Regions from separate parts of the Homo sapiens genome. Here region 1 is linked to region 2. The links are contacts of gene promoters, found by promoter capture Hi-C in blood cells and fetal thymus (Javierre and others, 2016). All regions are on one chromosome and are shown on one strand. Each heading gives the region's core, a stretch centred on a gene start or on the middle of the fragment in contact. The rest is flanking DNA. Distances are from core to core; before and after follow the strand shown. Region 1 has its middle 77 kb from the start of CCR1. Region 2 holds the start of CCRL2 (C-C motif chemokine receptor like 2).

The links. Contacts are between HindIII fragments. The CHiCAGO score rates a contact against its expected background, and 5 or more counts as called.
Region 1: a contact is called between a fragment that was not itself captured here and the fragment with the promoter of CCRL2 in region 2, in 3 of 17 cell types (M0 macrophages, M1 macrophages and M2 macrophages). The highest score is 9.6, in M0 macrophages.

Annotation. Positions count from the first base shown.
Region 1 is chr3:46,129,900-46,133,445 of GRCh38, reverse strand. No RefSeq gene overlaps it. Among named protein-coding and RNA genes, the nearest start is that of CCR1, 77 kb to the left of the region's middle. The HindIII fragment of the contact is 1,383 bases long and covers 956-2,338 here.
Region 2 is chr3:46,405,661-46,409,340 of GRCh38, reverse strand. CCRL2 (C-C motif chemokine receptor like 2) reads right to left here and starts at 2,082. Exons shown (of 2, transcript NM_003965.5): 1 at 1,839-2,082; 2 at 1-1,273. The coding sequence starts at 1,261. The coding sequence ends at 227. It overlaps CCR5AS (CCR5 antisense RNA), which reads left to right and starts at 2,275. Exons shown (of 4, transcript NR_125406.2): 1 at 2,275-2,444. The HindIII fragment of the contact is 3,797 bases long and covers 550-3,680 here.

The DNA.
Region 1 (3,546 bases), core at 398-2,897, 280 kb after region 2:
ACTCTCGATCCAGCTTCACTTCCAGCTCTGTGACCTGAGCAGGTCATCTTCCCTCTCTGGGCTCAGTTTATCCATTGACAACATGAAGTCACTGGACTAAGTGGCCCCTATGGCTCTTTCCAGCACTGACATCTCTGAGTCCCTGGGCCAAGGTCTAGGAAGCTATAGATGCAGGGACAGCCATCAGAGGTGTCCTGAGTCTTTGTGGGCTGAATAAAGAGGTTCAGGCTCTGTCAGCCAAGCCTGAAGTAGCCACTCCCTGACCTGGTCAATTAGGAGACAGATATATATATAATCTCTGCTTCATTCACTTGACTAATTTAGGGTATATTTTGATGCTCAATCAATACTTTTTTTTAAACCACCCTAAAACTTAGTGGTTTAAAATAACAAAGCCATTCATTATGATTCTGTGGATTGACCGAGTGGTTCTTTGTATGGTCTTGGCTGGTGCTGCAGGGCTGGCAGGTGCAGATTGGCCCCCCTCACAGAGCTGGCCAGGTGGTTCTGTGTCTACCAGGAGCTCTGCTGAGGCTGTTGGTCAGGACCTCAGCCCTCCACCACCTGGCCTCTCTAAACTGGGCTTCTTATAGTAGGGGCACTGGGATCCAGAGGGAGGAACCAAGAGTGAATGTCCCTGGAGGAAGAAAACAGAAGCTGCCAGGCCGTAAGACCTGGGCTCGGAAGTCCGAGCATATCACTTCCACATTTGGTCAAAGCAGGCACAGGGCAAATCCAGACATGAGGGGAGGGGACATACATTCCCCCCCTTGACACATACAGGAAAGGACATCGGACCTGATGGTGACCACATTTGGAGATTATCTACCACTGGGTACAAACACATCTTTTTTAAAATTTCATCAGTTAATAGTTCCAGAAAAATGGTGCCCAGTGCCTCCCTCCTGAAGCCTCCTTTTCAAATAACAGAAGAACACTGAGGGCTTGAAAAGCTTTTGTCCTTCTTCCAAACATAAGCTAGGAGAGAATGGAAGGGGCTATTCTGGTCACCACTACTCTGTTCTAGAGACATCACATTGTCAGTGTTGAAGCCTTGACTGGTGCAGCCCCAGGGACAATTGCTTGCTGATGAGGCAAGGCCCTCGCTGCTCTGGCTCGCTTCAGACTACTGTCGAGGTGCCACCCACCAGCCTCCACCTGGAGGTCCTTCAGCTCACACATGCTCCAAGCCTGGAGCTCCATCGTTCCCAGGGCGTGGCCCCATGCCATAGTCGCTGGGCCAGGAGGCTGCTGGTCTTGGCTGTGCTATTCCATAATCTCCCTGCATACACACAGCAAAGCCCAGGCTCTTGCATTTAGCTCAGACTGCCTTTGCCCTGGTGAATTTACCTTTGCCCTTGGCCTACTAGTCCTTTCCTCTCACCGTAAGCCACCCTGCCAGATTTGCTCGACTCAATATCTGCAGTCCCTCCCCTAACAAGGCTTCTGGCTCCTGATGTGAAAGGGTTTCCCTTCTACTAAAGTTCTGTGTGCTGAGGGCTCCCAGGACAAGCAGCTTTCATCAGGCCACACACTGCCCTTGTGTCCTGCACCCTCCCTGAGAGCAATGAGATCCTCCTTGCTGCCATACGCTATACGCTTGCAGAACAAAAAGGGGGAAACACAAGGAAAATTGTTCCAGGGGATCGTCCTTCTGGAAGCCTCCAATTAATTAGGCCAAAAATTAATATATAAAGTAAACACCATTAAAATGATAGTGCAAATAAAACCACATGCTAGTCAGTAATTATCAATATTGGCAGAATAGATTTAAGTTGATCTTCCACAGAGAATGATTTTTAAAGAAAACAAAAAACCCAGTATTGGTTCAGTTGCTCTATTCACAAAGTTGGCTATATTCTCACCTTGAGTTTATGTTCCAGCCCAAGCAGAATCCAACCCTAAGCCTTTTCTTTGTAAGTTTCAAATTTGATATAACTTCAAATTTTATGCAGATGTTTCAAGAATAGTTCAAAGAACTCTGTCCAAAGATCATCTTATCCAGATGCACCAATGTTAATATTTTGCCCCCATTTGTGTTATTCTCCTCCCCTCACTTCTCTTCATATCTAATTTATATATTATTTTCCTGAACTGCTTGAGAGTAAGTTACAGACACCATGCCCTTAAAAACTTCCCAAAAATGCCCCATGTGTATTTTCTAAAAGTAAGGACATTCTCTTACATAGCCACAGAACAAGGATCAAAATCAGGAAATTTAACATTCATCTCATGCTGTTGTCTGGTCCATCTTCCATGTCTACATTTCGCCAATTGCCCTTAAATAGTCCCTGGTGAGCTGTCTTCCCATAACCCAGATCCAATCTGGGATCAAGCTTTGCATCAGTCACCTTTCATCTAGAAGGGCCTCAGGCTTTCTGAGTTTGGCTCACTCTTAGGCAGGCACCACGGGGCTCGGAGTCCTTCGCTTTTCTGCAGCCGCACCTGCTGCCTGCCCCAGTTAGAGCCTATCCACCTTCTTGGTCCCCTAAACCTCCCTGGATCATGCAGTTCTCCTTCATGCTGAACATGGAGTGAGTGTTCTCTGTTGTTTTCTTGTGACTTCTTTCCAGTCAGGAAAATGTGATTCTGGTAACTCCATGCTTGTTCCCTTTTCACACTAACCACAGTTCCCTTTTTACAGTAATCACATTTTGGTGTAAAAACAATGTCATGATAAAGGAAACTTCCTGAAAAGGAATGAGAACATAATCCTCCTCTAAGAACCTGTTCATTTTTACTTGTGCCGGCCTAGTAATACATTTTATACTGCAGTCATTGTGCTCATTTTTTTCATCTGCCCTTTCACGTTTTCTAAAATGCAAATTGTTCCCTGTCACTCCCCTCCTATGACACTCAGGCCAAACTGCAGACACGACCTAGTGAGGGCCCTGCCTACCCTCATCCCCTGACATATGGTCCTGGTGCTCCCCACGCCAAGCCACGCAGAGGCTCCTGAATACACCAGACTCTTTCTCAGTTGTATCCTTCCACCCCACTCTTGCGTCTGCTCCATCAGGCCCAACTAGTGAAGTTCGCACAAAGTGCCTAAGCATCACCTCCCTCCTGTGCCTGACCTCACCACTCCAGCCAGGGCCACTCCCTCACTGCTTGGTCCAACAGCGGTTATCAGAGTATCATTCTGTTTTGCAGATGGGCTTATGTGCCCGCCTCTCCCAGTGACTGTGTGTTTCCTGTGGGCAGCACCTATATCTTTTATTTCAATGTCCCTAGCACCAGGCACAGTGCACAGAGGTACCAAAAAACTCTGCAAGTGAACATTGTTGCTGTAAGGCCAGCATCCTTCTTTCACCCTGTGTTCCCTTCTAAGCTGTGCATGCAAACACCCATCTCTTTTGAGCATCATGAGAGCTGCCTGGGCCAGCCTTCTCACTCATCATCCCCACCACTCCTCACCCCCTTGGTCATGCCCCGTGTTCTCCAGCTCCTCTCTGGATTCTGAGTCTGGTTTGAGTCCCACCTCTCCCATGGACTACTGGTGTAATCTTGGGAAAGATTTTACCTTTATGCCCTTGCATTTCTTGA
Region 2 (3,680 bases), core at 833-3,332:
TAGTCCTATCCACACTATGGACAAGTGGTAGGAGGCGAAGGAGCTCACGTTTGTAAAGAGCCTTGCACGGTGCCTGAGACAAATTCAGTGCTTAGCAAATGTTAGCTCACCTCTCCCTTTTCTTCCTGTATCCGATTTTGTATACAAATGTGTAGAAAATTTACATGAAATAATGCAGAAAGATGAAAATCCATGTTTATTCTTCTTGCATTTGGTGGATGCTAGTTTACACTTCGGTGGAATGGTCAGGTTCTTCCCTCGATGTGCCTTGTGCAGACTGCCCCCTGGGTTGAAGTGGGGTGTTACTACGCAGATGGAAACAGCGGCAGAGGTATTTGCTAAATGTCCCATCAAGAAACGCATACAGGAGAGGGTTGATGCAGCAGTGGGTGGTGGCGATGAGTTTAGTGATGTGAACACTTTTGTCCAGATTGTAGCTGCTCTTGCAGTCACTCAGGGAGAAGTGTTCTTTGAAAGTGGACAGGAAAAATGCAATATTGTAGGGCGCCCACATCAGAAGGAAGACTACCATTATGGCAAAAACAAGCTTGAAAAGGCTATACCTCTGCTCCCTGAACCTTAGTGTTTTTCTCATTTGCACATAGAGAAATGTAAAAATAAATAGGGGGAGGACAAGAACCGAAATGTTCATTTTTAAAGTCAGAAAATGCTTCCAGAATGTCTCATCAGCTGGCAGGAAGGGAGTTCTGCTAAATGCACACTTGTATTTCTGGTCTTCCATCTGAGGTTTATAAACCACGAATTCAGGCAAAGTGGCCAGAATGGCTGTTACCCATGCCAGGACACTTGTAATGATGCCACAGGGCACCCTCCTCCTGGCTGAGAAAAAGTTTCCCTTGTGCAAAAACACTAGGTACCTTTGCACAGTCAGAAGGCAATTGAAAAATGTCTCACTGTACAGGCCCACGAAGTACAGTCCAATGAGAATTTTACACATGGGATCGCCCCCAGCATGAGCCCAGAAGGGCAGGGTAAGCAAGAAACACAAGTTAGAAACTGCCAAGTTTAGAAGATAGATATTTTCCACGCGTTTGAGTCCTTTATATTTTACCAGGATAAGCACAACCAGGAGATTGTCCAGGACACCGATCACAAACACAGCAGAGCAGAGTGATGGCACCAGCTGGGCTGAGAGTGCCTGGGCGTCATACTTGTCACATTGCTCTGCCTCATCGCTCTCCAGTTCACCTTCTATGAGGACATCATATTCATCCTCTGGTGCCAGCGTGTAATTGGCCATCTTCAGACTGCCCTGTGGAGAAATGGGAGATGATTTTCCCCTCCGACAGCTGCCTTATCCTGGAGGAAACAACAAACTGGACCTGGATTCATACAGCCCCACTTTCCCTTTCTGGAGCTACATTTTAGCCAGAGTAATTCCCTATTTCAGAAGACTGAAATAAACATTTCTTTAACGTGTGCCCACTTCCCCAGAGCAGCACCATTCCCAATCTAGTTGTTAAGCATGTAAGTGCTTAGCAGTGTGCCAGGTGCCACGGGAAATAAAGCTGGCATGACACCGCCTTGGTAGAACTTACCTTCTTTTAGCAGAAACAGGACTTGCCTACATGAACACAATATGTAAGAAAATATATAATTAAAGAGAACCAAGTACGATGGCTTACTTTTAAGAAACGGGTGTAGATCATAATTTCTGCATTTTAAAAAGTTTGCTCACCCCCCGAAGCAGCTTCCTGTGACAGCTGAGACGTTTTTCTCTCGAAGGGTATAAATAAATGTTTGCAAAAGTGAAACCATGCTCAGCATCAACATGGCCATAAGGGGTTAAATACATAGATGACACACAGATGACTTACCACTGGGCTGAGCTCCTGCAGGGGAAGGGCGCAGCCTCCAGACCCAGCATCCGGGAGCTGTGGGAATGGCCCCGGACAGTGGATGCCCTCCTTTTGATCAGACTGCTCCTGACCCTGAGGGGCACGAGAAACCACTGTTGATTCCCCTGGTGGCTCTACCCGCCCCACTCACCGAGCTCAGGGACCAACTGAAATAAAGTACTCAAAAGCTCCCCCAGGCCTCCAGAGGATCTCTGAAGCGTCTGAAAGCAACCGGGAAGTTGTTTCCTCCTCCCTCTGGCCCTGTACCCCGCCTTTGATTTCCCTGTGACCTTTGACAGCCGTCTTCTGGCCTTCTGAGATAAGGGAACTGTGTCACTGCCGCTCTGAGTGGTAGCAAGGAAGTGATGTCAAGGTGCTGAGAACTGCCAAGACGCTCTGGCTTGTGGCATGTGACACTCTGAGTAGGTAACAGGTACCAGCTACTGTCAGCAGGGAGGAAGGTATGTGGTGACCACGAGTCCAGACCTGAGGGTCCTGACCCTCTAATGCGGCCTCTCACCAGTGTTCGCAGAAACCCACCCGCTGATTCAATACGGGGACCAGGAACCTGCCATGACAGTCACGGTGTGTTTGGGTTTTTATTGTCATTTTTGAGGGGCACTGTGTGCTTTGGTTAAGACTGAGGCCTCAAAAGAGAATTTTAGGAAAATGGAAGCCACAGGGTGATGTCAGCTGGGAAAAGGCCAGGGGCAGAGGTGGGGTCTCAGCGGCAGTGAGCATAGGGCTGCCCTGGGTGTCAACACTGAGGAAAGCAAAGGGGTTTGCAAGCAGCCAGAAGTGATTGGTGCTGTGACTCATGGGGGAGCTGACCCCACTCGGAAAAGGAGAACCCAGAGGAGGAAAATCCCGTGGTGATGACACAGAGGCGACATCAAGTTGGGTGGGAGAGAATGTGAGGAGGACAAGTTTAACCCCAAACTGAGGCTGGGGGCTAGGGTAGGTTTGAGTCCAGAGAGAAGGAAATTGAGAGAACAGCCCAGATTTGGAATGGTGGGAGGAGGCTGTGGGGAGGGGAGGCTGTGGGAAGAGAGTGGGACGGGGAGGGCACGGTCTGGAAGAAGGACGAACCGAGAAGAGGAACTTGAAAATAATGAAAAAATCTAGATGAGCTTCTCTTGGGTCAACGACTCAGCAGCTGTGACTAACCTAATTTGGGGATCAGACCTATTTGCTTAGAATTTATATATTGATTAAATGACATCCTTTTCCCACCAAAGATGTGTCTGAGGTAGGATTGAATACAAAATTTGTACCTGTCAAAATAGAAATAGAAAATTAAGAAACTAGCCTGGCACTGAGGCGCATTCCTACAGCCCCAGCTACTCAGAAGTATGAGGTGGGAGGGTCGCTTGAGCCCAGGAGTTTGAGGCCAGCCTGGGCAACATAGTGAGATCCCGGATCTATAAACAATATAAAAATTAGCCAGATGCAGTGGCAAGTGCCTGTAATCCCAGACATTCCAGAGGCCAAGGTGGGATGTTCACGTGAGCCCAGGAGTTGGAGGCTGCGGTGAGCCATGATCATGCCACTCTGCACTCTGGCCTGGGTGGCAGAGCGAGACACTGTCTCTGGAAAAAAAAAAGAAGAAGGAGGAGGAGGGGCGGGGAGAGGAAGGGAGGAGAGAGAACTATTAAGAGAAAAATAAACACAGAAAGAGCCCAGACAAATATGTGATTGAGCATTAAATTTAACTCCACGTGTGCCGACAGACAAGGCAGAAAGAGAAACACAATGATGTTTGATGGCAGAGGAGTTGGTGCTGGTGGGAACCTAAGCTGTAAGTGCCCTCTCCTCTCTTGT